Linked DNA regions of Homo sapiens: region 2 is linked to region 1. Evidence: promoter capture Hi-C in 16 types of primary human blood cells and fetal thymus (Javierre and others, 2016). All regions are on one chromosome and are shown on one strand. The core of a region is centred on a gene start or on the middle of the fragment in contact, and the rest is flanking DNA. Distances in the headings are between cores, read along the strand shown. Region 1 holds the start of LILRA2 (leukocyte immunoglobulin like receptor A2). Region 2 holds the start of CEACAM18 (CEA cell adhesion molecule 18).

Evidence for each region. The method cuts DNA at HindIII sites, captures the fragments that hold promoters and counts their contacts. A CHiCAGO score of 5 or more calls a contact.
Region 2: a contact is called between the fragment with the promoter of CEACAM18 here and the fragment with the promoter of LILRA2 in region 1, in 2 of 17 cell types (total CD4 T cells and naive CD8 T cells). The highest score is 8.6, in total CD4 T cells.

What each region holds. Positions count from the first base shown.
Region 1 is chr19:54,571,811-54,575,217 of GRCh38, reverse strand. It overlaps LILRA2 (leukocyte immunoglobulin like receptor A2), which reads right to left and starts at 1,428. Exons shown (of 8, transcript NM_001130917.3): 1 at 1,306-1,428; 2 at 1,107-1,142; 3 at 636-917; 4 at 185-487. The coding sequence starts at 1,339. It overlaps LOC107985347 (a long non-coding RNA gene), which reads left to right and starts at 2,390. Exons shown (of 2, transcript XR_002958419.2): 1 at 2,390-2,482. The HindIII fragment of the contact is 11,294 bases long and covers 1-3,407 here.
Region 2 is chr19:51,477,289-51,480,695 of GRCh38, reverse strand. CEACAM18 (CEA cell adhesion molecule 18) reads right to left here and starts at 2,157. Exons shown (of 6, transcript NM_001405061.1): 1 at 2,002-2,157; 2 at 16-363. The coding sequence starts at 2,053. The HindIII fragment of the contact is 9,749 bases long and covers 1-3,407 here.

The DNA of each region.
Region 1 (3,407 bases), core at 179-2,678:
CAGGCTTCCCCACAAACCCTCCCTCTCCCCCGCTGATCTTCCTGTGTCTCCGGCCCCAGGAGCCCTGAGCCCTCTCGCCCCAACATCATCCCACCTGGAGCTGCCCTGAGACGCGGCTGCTCCCCACCTGCCTGGAGACTCAGGGAGACTCAGGGAACTCCAAGCAATTCTGTGAATTTCTCACCTGGGACCAGGAGCTCCAGGAGATCACTGGGTAGAGACCACACATAGGGAGAGTTCGAGTCATAAGCATAGCACCTGTACGACCACCTGCGACTCGGGCTCACGGGGCCCACGGAGAAGATGGCCCAGGACCACCCACGGGCATGGGAATGGGAGTTCAGGCGTTGTGGGTGTTCATCTTCTCCTTCCTTACACAGAATGAAGCCGTCAAATGCCACCTGTGAGACACACTGGAGGGTCACGTTCCCTCCTGAGGTCACCACAGGGCTGGGCAGAGCTGAGAGGGTGGGTTTGCTGTAGGCTCCTAGGAGAGAAGGAGGCACTGTGTTAAATGGGGCTCCCACCTCCCACATCATCCCCAGGGTTGAGCTGTGAGAGCGGAGATGCCCCTGAGAGCCGACCCCCTTCCTGAGGGCAGAGCCTGGGGCTGGGACTCCTGAGTGTCCTCTCACCTGTCACCACCAGCTCCAGGGGGTCACTGTACTCTGATGAGTGATTGTGGCTGTAGTACTGACAGTGATACCGCCCTGCGTGTTCCCAGGTGATGGATGGGATGGGGAACTGGCCATTCTTCCCAGGCTCTTGTATCCGTCTAACCCAGGATGCTGATTTGTTTTCCCTATATAGATGGTACTCCTCAGCCTGAAGGCTCCCCTGACACCTGAGGGTCACAGGACTTCCCTGGATGATCACAGAGCCTGGCTCAGCCCAGAGGGTGGGCTTGGGGAGGTGCCCTGGAAGGAAATCAGAGGTCGGATTCTAAGTCATTTCCCACCCAACAGATCTCAGCTCTCAGCTGCAGGACCCTCCAGACACCCCCATCAGTCAGCCCAGAACTGCTATTCCCCATCCCCAGCTGCACGGGGGTGGCCCCTTGTCCCTAGTGAGGAGGAGGGACCTGGGACAGCTGGGAACAGACTCACCTGCCTGCACGTGGGTCCTGGGGCCCAGACTCAGCCCTGGAAGAGAGTTCCCTGTGAGGGATTTTTCCCCTGAAGCCTGGGCAGGTCCTCCCCTCCCTGGGATCTTTGTGAGCCCCTGGGGTCTCCTTAGGGACCAGAGTTTGGCTGTGGGGTGAGGTCCCTCCTAGGTTAGAAGCTCCCCTCCCTCTTCAAATCTCACCGAGACAGATCAGGACCGTGAGGATGGGGGTCATGGCGTCTCCTCCCACTGCCCTGCTCTGCGGATGGATGAGCCCTCAGTGCTGGCAGGACAGAGAGACGCACAGGGTGTGGACACTCGGAGGCTGGATCCTTCTTGTCATGGGGTTTTGTTATGTGCAACCACACAGGAAGTGCAACTGCCCTCTCAGGAGCCTGGCTGTCATACCTTTAGGGCTGAGGTGGGGGCAGGCACCAGGCCCTCTGCAGACATTTCAGACTGTAATGGGGTCTTTCCTGCCCCCCAGCCACTGTCTGTCTGGTTTATCCTCATCTCCTTGAGACCTGGGATGTAGCAGCAAATAGAACTGGTGCCCTCCTGCGTCTGCCCTTCCAGATGAGGGTGAGCAGAGGCTTCCTCTTCCTTCTCAGAGCTTCCCCATGGGGTCTCCCTCCCTCCTTCAGCCCGTCCATCAGCTCAGCGTTGCGGGGTCCTTACCATGGCGGTCGTCCCTCCAGCCCTGGAGATGCTTCAGGGAAAACCCAGGTCCATGCTGCAGTTAGACTCAGATCAGCAGAGACGCACCTGACACCTGGCTGTGTAGCTCAGGTTGAGCTGCGTGTGGCAGTGAGCACAGAGGAGTAATGCAGGGTCTACCATGGTGGCTCATGCCTGGAATCCCAGCACTTCAGGAGGCTGAGGTGGGTGAAGGCTAGAGGCCAGGAGCTTCAGATTACCCTGGGCCACATAGCAAGACCTTGTCTGTATAAAAAAAGCAAAAAATTAGCCAGGCATGGCAGCTCACATCTCTAGTCCCAGCTACTCAGGAGGCTGAGGTGGGAGGAATACTTCGGCCTGGGAGGCGGAGGCTGCAGGGAGCTATGATCACCCCTTAGCATTCCAGCCTCAGTGACAGAGTGAGACCCTGTCTCAAAAGGGGAAATGCAGGGATTAACTATAATAAAACATATTTGTTCTGTCTTGAGAGTGTGTGTTTCCTTCCTACCAAACCGTCCCTCTCCTGTACTTCCCCTTTTCTCTTTGTTGCAACATCACCCACCCCCACCCCGGGAATGAGGCTCTGAGTCGGTCCCGCCCCCTCAGTGTCCCTTGCGTCCTTGGCCTTCCCTCGGCACCTCCGTCCATGTTCAGAGTTTTCAGAAGAATTTGTTAGGTCTGTAATCTGATTCTGGGGAAGGTGAGCTGATTTGTATTTAATTCCTGATTATCATCCAGGGTTTATGTGACTTTGGACATGAATGTCACCTCTGAGCCTGCTGTCGTGAACCCCACTCATCACAGTGGCTGTGGGGGTCAGTGGTGCCCAGGACATGGGAGGCTCAGCCATGGTGAATTTCCAGACCAGTTCAGACAGGAGGGTGGGGACGGGAGAGGATCCTGGTGCTGGGCTCCACAGTCCAGGAGGATGATTGACGCCCCCACTCAAGAGCCCACATCGGCTCCAAATACCATGAAATTCTCCTTGTGATACATCTGAAATATGCAGATCATCACAGCCACGGGCACAGAAAGAGGAAGAACAGTTCCTCACATTGAGACGCATCCCCTTCCATGAGCAGAGTTCAATGCTGAGTGGCCACAGGTGTCTGGGACCACCCAGGGTCATTAGGGAGGAGGAGGCTCCCACCTCCGTGTGGGACAGAAGAGGAACCCCACGTCCTCCCAGGCAGGGAGGGGTCAGGGCTCTGGGTGACGCTGGAAGCTGTGGCTCCCCCTCCCCTGTGTGTGTGGACAGGCGCTGGGGGGTCTCTGCTCACTCACTGGAGGCCATGGTCAGTGCTCAGCCCCTCCCCTGTGTGTGAGAAACAGATTCAATCCACGGTGGTCTGACATGGGCGTCTGCTCTGCCCCACAGGTGAGTGTGAGACTGGCGTTGGTCCCATCCCTGCTGGGCACAATCTTGAGCTGACACTGAGTTTGGGGGAGTGGGGAGGAGCAGCGGCAACAATCCCCTTCATCAGGCTGATGCCTGGACAGCCGTGGGAGAAACCCTTTATGAAAGGTCAGGTGCGTGGGAGGAGCCGCCCCACAGGAATGACAACCAAGATACATGAGGAAAACACAGACAGTTGTTGAAATGCATTAGACAGACATTGTGAAGG
Region 2 (3,407 bases), core at 908-3,407, 3.1 Mb after region 1:
CACCTGCTAACCCACCTAGAACCTCCAGCCAGCCGGTTGCTCTTTGGGTCTCATTGCCTGCAACCACCCGAACAGTGTAGTTTCCCGTGTCATTTAATGCAGTCGGCCTGATCAACAGGCTGCCTTCTCTGTTCACTCTCTCCCTGCCAGTGTACATGGGCCCAGGCTGCTGGGCACTGGGCGGTTTGTGGCTGATAATCATGTTTCCTGCGCTGTCGTTTGCACCCCAGTACCAGCTGTATTCCTGAACATCCTCAGGGACCTTATCCAGGGCCACGACAGTCCGATATCCCTTGATCCCCAGGGTTTGGGTGATGAAGATTTGGCCAGAGGCCTGGCAGATCCCACAGGCCAGCAGACTGGCTGAAGAAGACAAGGAAAAAAGACAGAGAGAAATTCACAAAGAGATTCAGACTGGCTGAGAAGACAAGGAAAAAAGACACCATCCGGGAACGATTCCCAGAGACGCTGGTGAACCAGGCAAGAGTTTCTGGCTCCTGGTAGAGTCCCCAGCTTGTCCCCTCCTGTGCCTCCCCTCAGCCCCTGCCGTGGTCCATTTTACCCTTATCTTCTCCCAGGCCCTCCTCGCTAGCCACACAGCCTCCAATCCATCCTCACATCACAGTTACGTAAATGTTAATAAGCCCAAGTTGCGACCCTGTTCTCCTCTGCTCAAACACCTTCCATGGCTCCCCAGTGCTCTTAGGATACAGTCCAAACTCTTAGGTGGGTATATGAAACACTCTCAGCCAGAGCTGGTGTTTGTGACTCATCGAGCCTCCTTGTGGTGCACACCTACCCCATCCTGTCCCCACTATGCACCTTTTACTCATTTATTCCTGTAGTTATTTATCAGAAGACATGACTGCCACGCTGTATGCCCCAGGCCTCTACATAGCTCTCTTGGTGCACCACACCTTCTCCTAACTCCAGGCTTCGCACACGCTGTTCCCCATTCCCGGCAGGGACTCCTTCTCCCTCCTCTCCATCTGCACCCTCCTTGCTGACTCACTTCTATTCATCACTCAGGTCTCAGCTTGGATGTCTCCTCCACCCCAGCCTGGGTCAGGTGTCCCCTCTGGGCTCCCCCAGCTCCTCCTGGGCTCCCCCCATCCCAGCCATGACCTCTGGGGGTCCTCAGAGTCTGGGCACATATCTATATCTCGCCCTGGACTGTGGGCTCCAGGAGGGCAGGACTGCCCTGTCTCAGTCACCACTGAGTCCCCAGCGCCCCTGAGCACAGGCTGGACACAGGGGGAGTTCAGTAATGATTGTCTGGGTGAGAAATACTCCCCCGAGAATTTCTACATGTCTTTGATTTTGCATCTAAATTCACTGGAGTGGGTGTGAATGGAGGCGGCAGCCTGTTACCACATATGACATGGGCAGTTGTCCACTGCCCTGTGAACCCCAAGCCTGGGCTATGTGGAGGAGGCAGAGATGCCTGAGACCCCGGCTCTAGGCCTCACGTATGGACACACTGGACCTGTTCAAGGACAGTACACGTGGTAAAGCAGGACAGTTGTGCTTGTAGGGGGCACAGAAGGTCCTGGGCAAAGGTGAGGGGCTGGGAAGGAATCTGGCCTGAGAGGTGGGGGAGGGGATGGGGCAGATTGGGGCACCCAGTGGGAGGTGAGTGCAGGGAGGTGAGGGTGAAGGTCCAAGCTCCTGATTCCTGGGCGTAGATAGAAACACAGTTTCTCTCTCTCTCTCTCTGTGTGTGCGCGCGTGTGTGTGTGTGCATGTGCGTGTGCGTGTGTGTGTAACACCACATGTGTGGGTCTGTGCAGGGGTGTGTCTAGGGGCAAAGTGTGCCCACGTGTGTGAGCTCATGAAAGTTGTGCTGAGGGTCCTCCCCCTTCTCCTCTCCCCGACCCCTGCTCTGGGAGTTTCTTGATGTGCCCGTGGATGGGGATGGTCCCAGCCCCCTCCCCGCCGCTTTGCTCCTAGCTGCCCTTCCCTCAGTCCTGGGAAGCTCATCCAGCATCCAGCATCTCTTACCCATGAGGAAGACCCTCCTCCACAGGCTCCATCTGGGTCTGGAAAGGTCCATGAGCTGCCTGGGGTCCTCCAGGAGGAGGGGTCCCTCCAGAGACACAGCCACCTCCTCTGCTCCCTCCAAGACCTGTGTCTCCTGGCACAGAGGCTGCCGGTCTCGTCTCCCAGCCTTCAGGGCGGCCTTTCCTCCCCAGGGTGCACTCTGACCAGCAGGGGTGGGGCCTGGGGAAGACGGCTCTTGAGAGCCCAACCTTATCTTTATGGCTTTATGTTGCCTTTAGTTCATTATTTATTTACTTATTTTTATAATAATTTACATTTTTTTCTCTGGTCATGAAAAAACGGAAAAACACAGGCTCACTGTTGGGAAAACAAAGAAAACCAGAAAATACAGCCAAGTGCCTCAAAGATAGGACATCAAACTCCTCAACTGTATGTCCTGTTTCCATTTGGTTTGGTTTTCCTATGCAGGGCCCAGCTTTTTTTTTTTTTTTTTTTTTTTCACGGAGTCTCGCTCTGTCACCAGGCTGGAGTGCAATGGCATGATCTTGGCTCACCGCAACCTCGTCTTCCGGGTCCAAGTGATTCACCTGCCTCAGCCTCCCGAGTAGCTGGGACTACAGGCTCGTGCCACCACACCCAGCTAATTTTTGTGTTTTTAGTAGAGACGGGGTTACATCATGCTGGCCAGGATGGTCTTGATCTCTTGACCTCGTTATCCGCCCACCTCGGCCTCCCAAAGTGCTGAGATTACAGGTGTGAGCCACCGTGCCCGGTGTAGGGCCCAACTTTTAGACTGCCTGGGGCTGTTTTACAACTGGCTGCTTTCCTCCTCAACAGTGGACTATTTCTCTATGTCACTAAATATTCCTCCCATGACCATTGTGAATGGCTGCAGGGAATGCTCTTCTAGACCTGAACCAGTGTGTGTATAACCAGATCCCTTTGTGAAAGTGCTCACAAGCCAAAAAAATCCCTGAGAAATACAGTGGGGAAGGCTGTGAAGCGAGGGCTCTCTGACAACAAAAATTTTCACAGAAGACGCTGCAGAAACCATAGTCTTGCACAAAAGCCATTGCTTCCTTCCACCAAAAAAATACTTCTGTGACAAGTATTTGGACAGCAACCTCCGGTCCAAACTTGGACTGACGTCACCCTCATTAGGGATCCTTGTAGCCTAGGGTAATTATCTCAAACCATTTATGGGGTCCTCCTCATTTTTCCATTGAAAACCCTTTGTGTTCTTTTACCTCCCTGAATATGCACGTAGTTTACTATAGCACCCAGATTCCCATTGCAATGCCCCATTCCTGAATACATATCATTTTCTTTTAGAGAGCTTCTCTCTGTTTGTTATTTAGGTTGACACTTTGTTGTTGGAGGGTCAGGCTGTTTCTAAAAACAGGGAT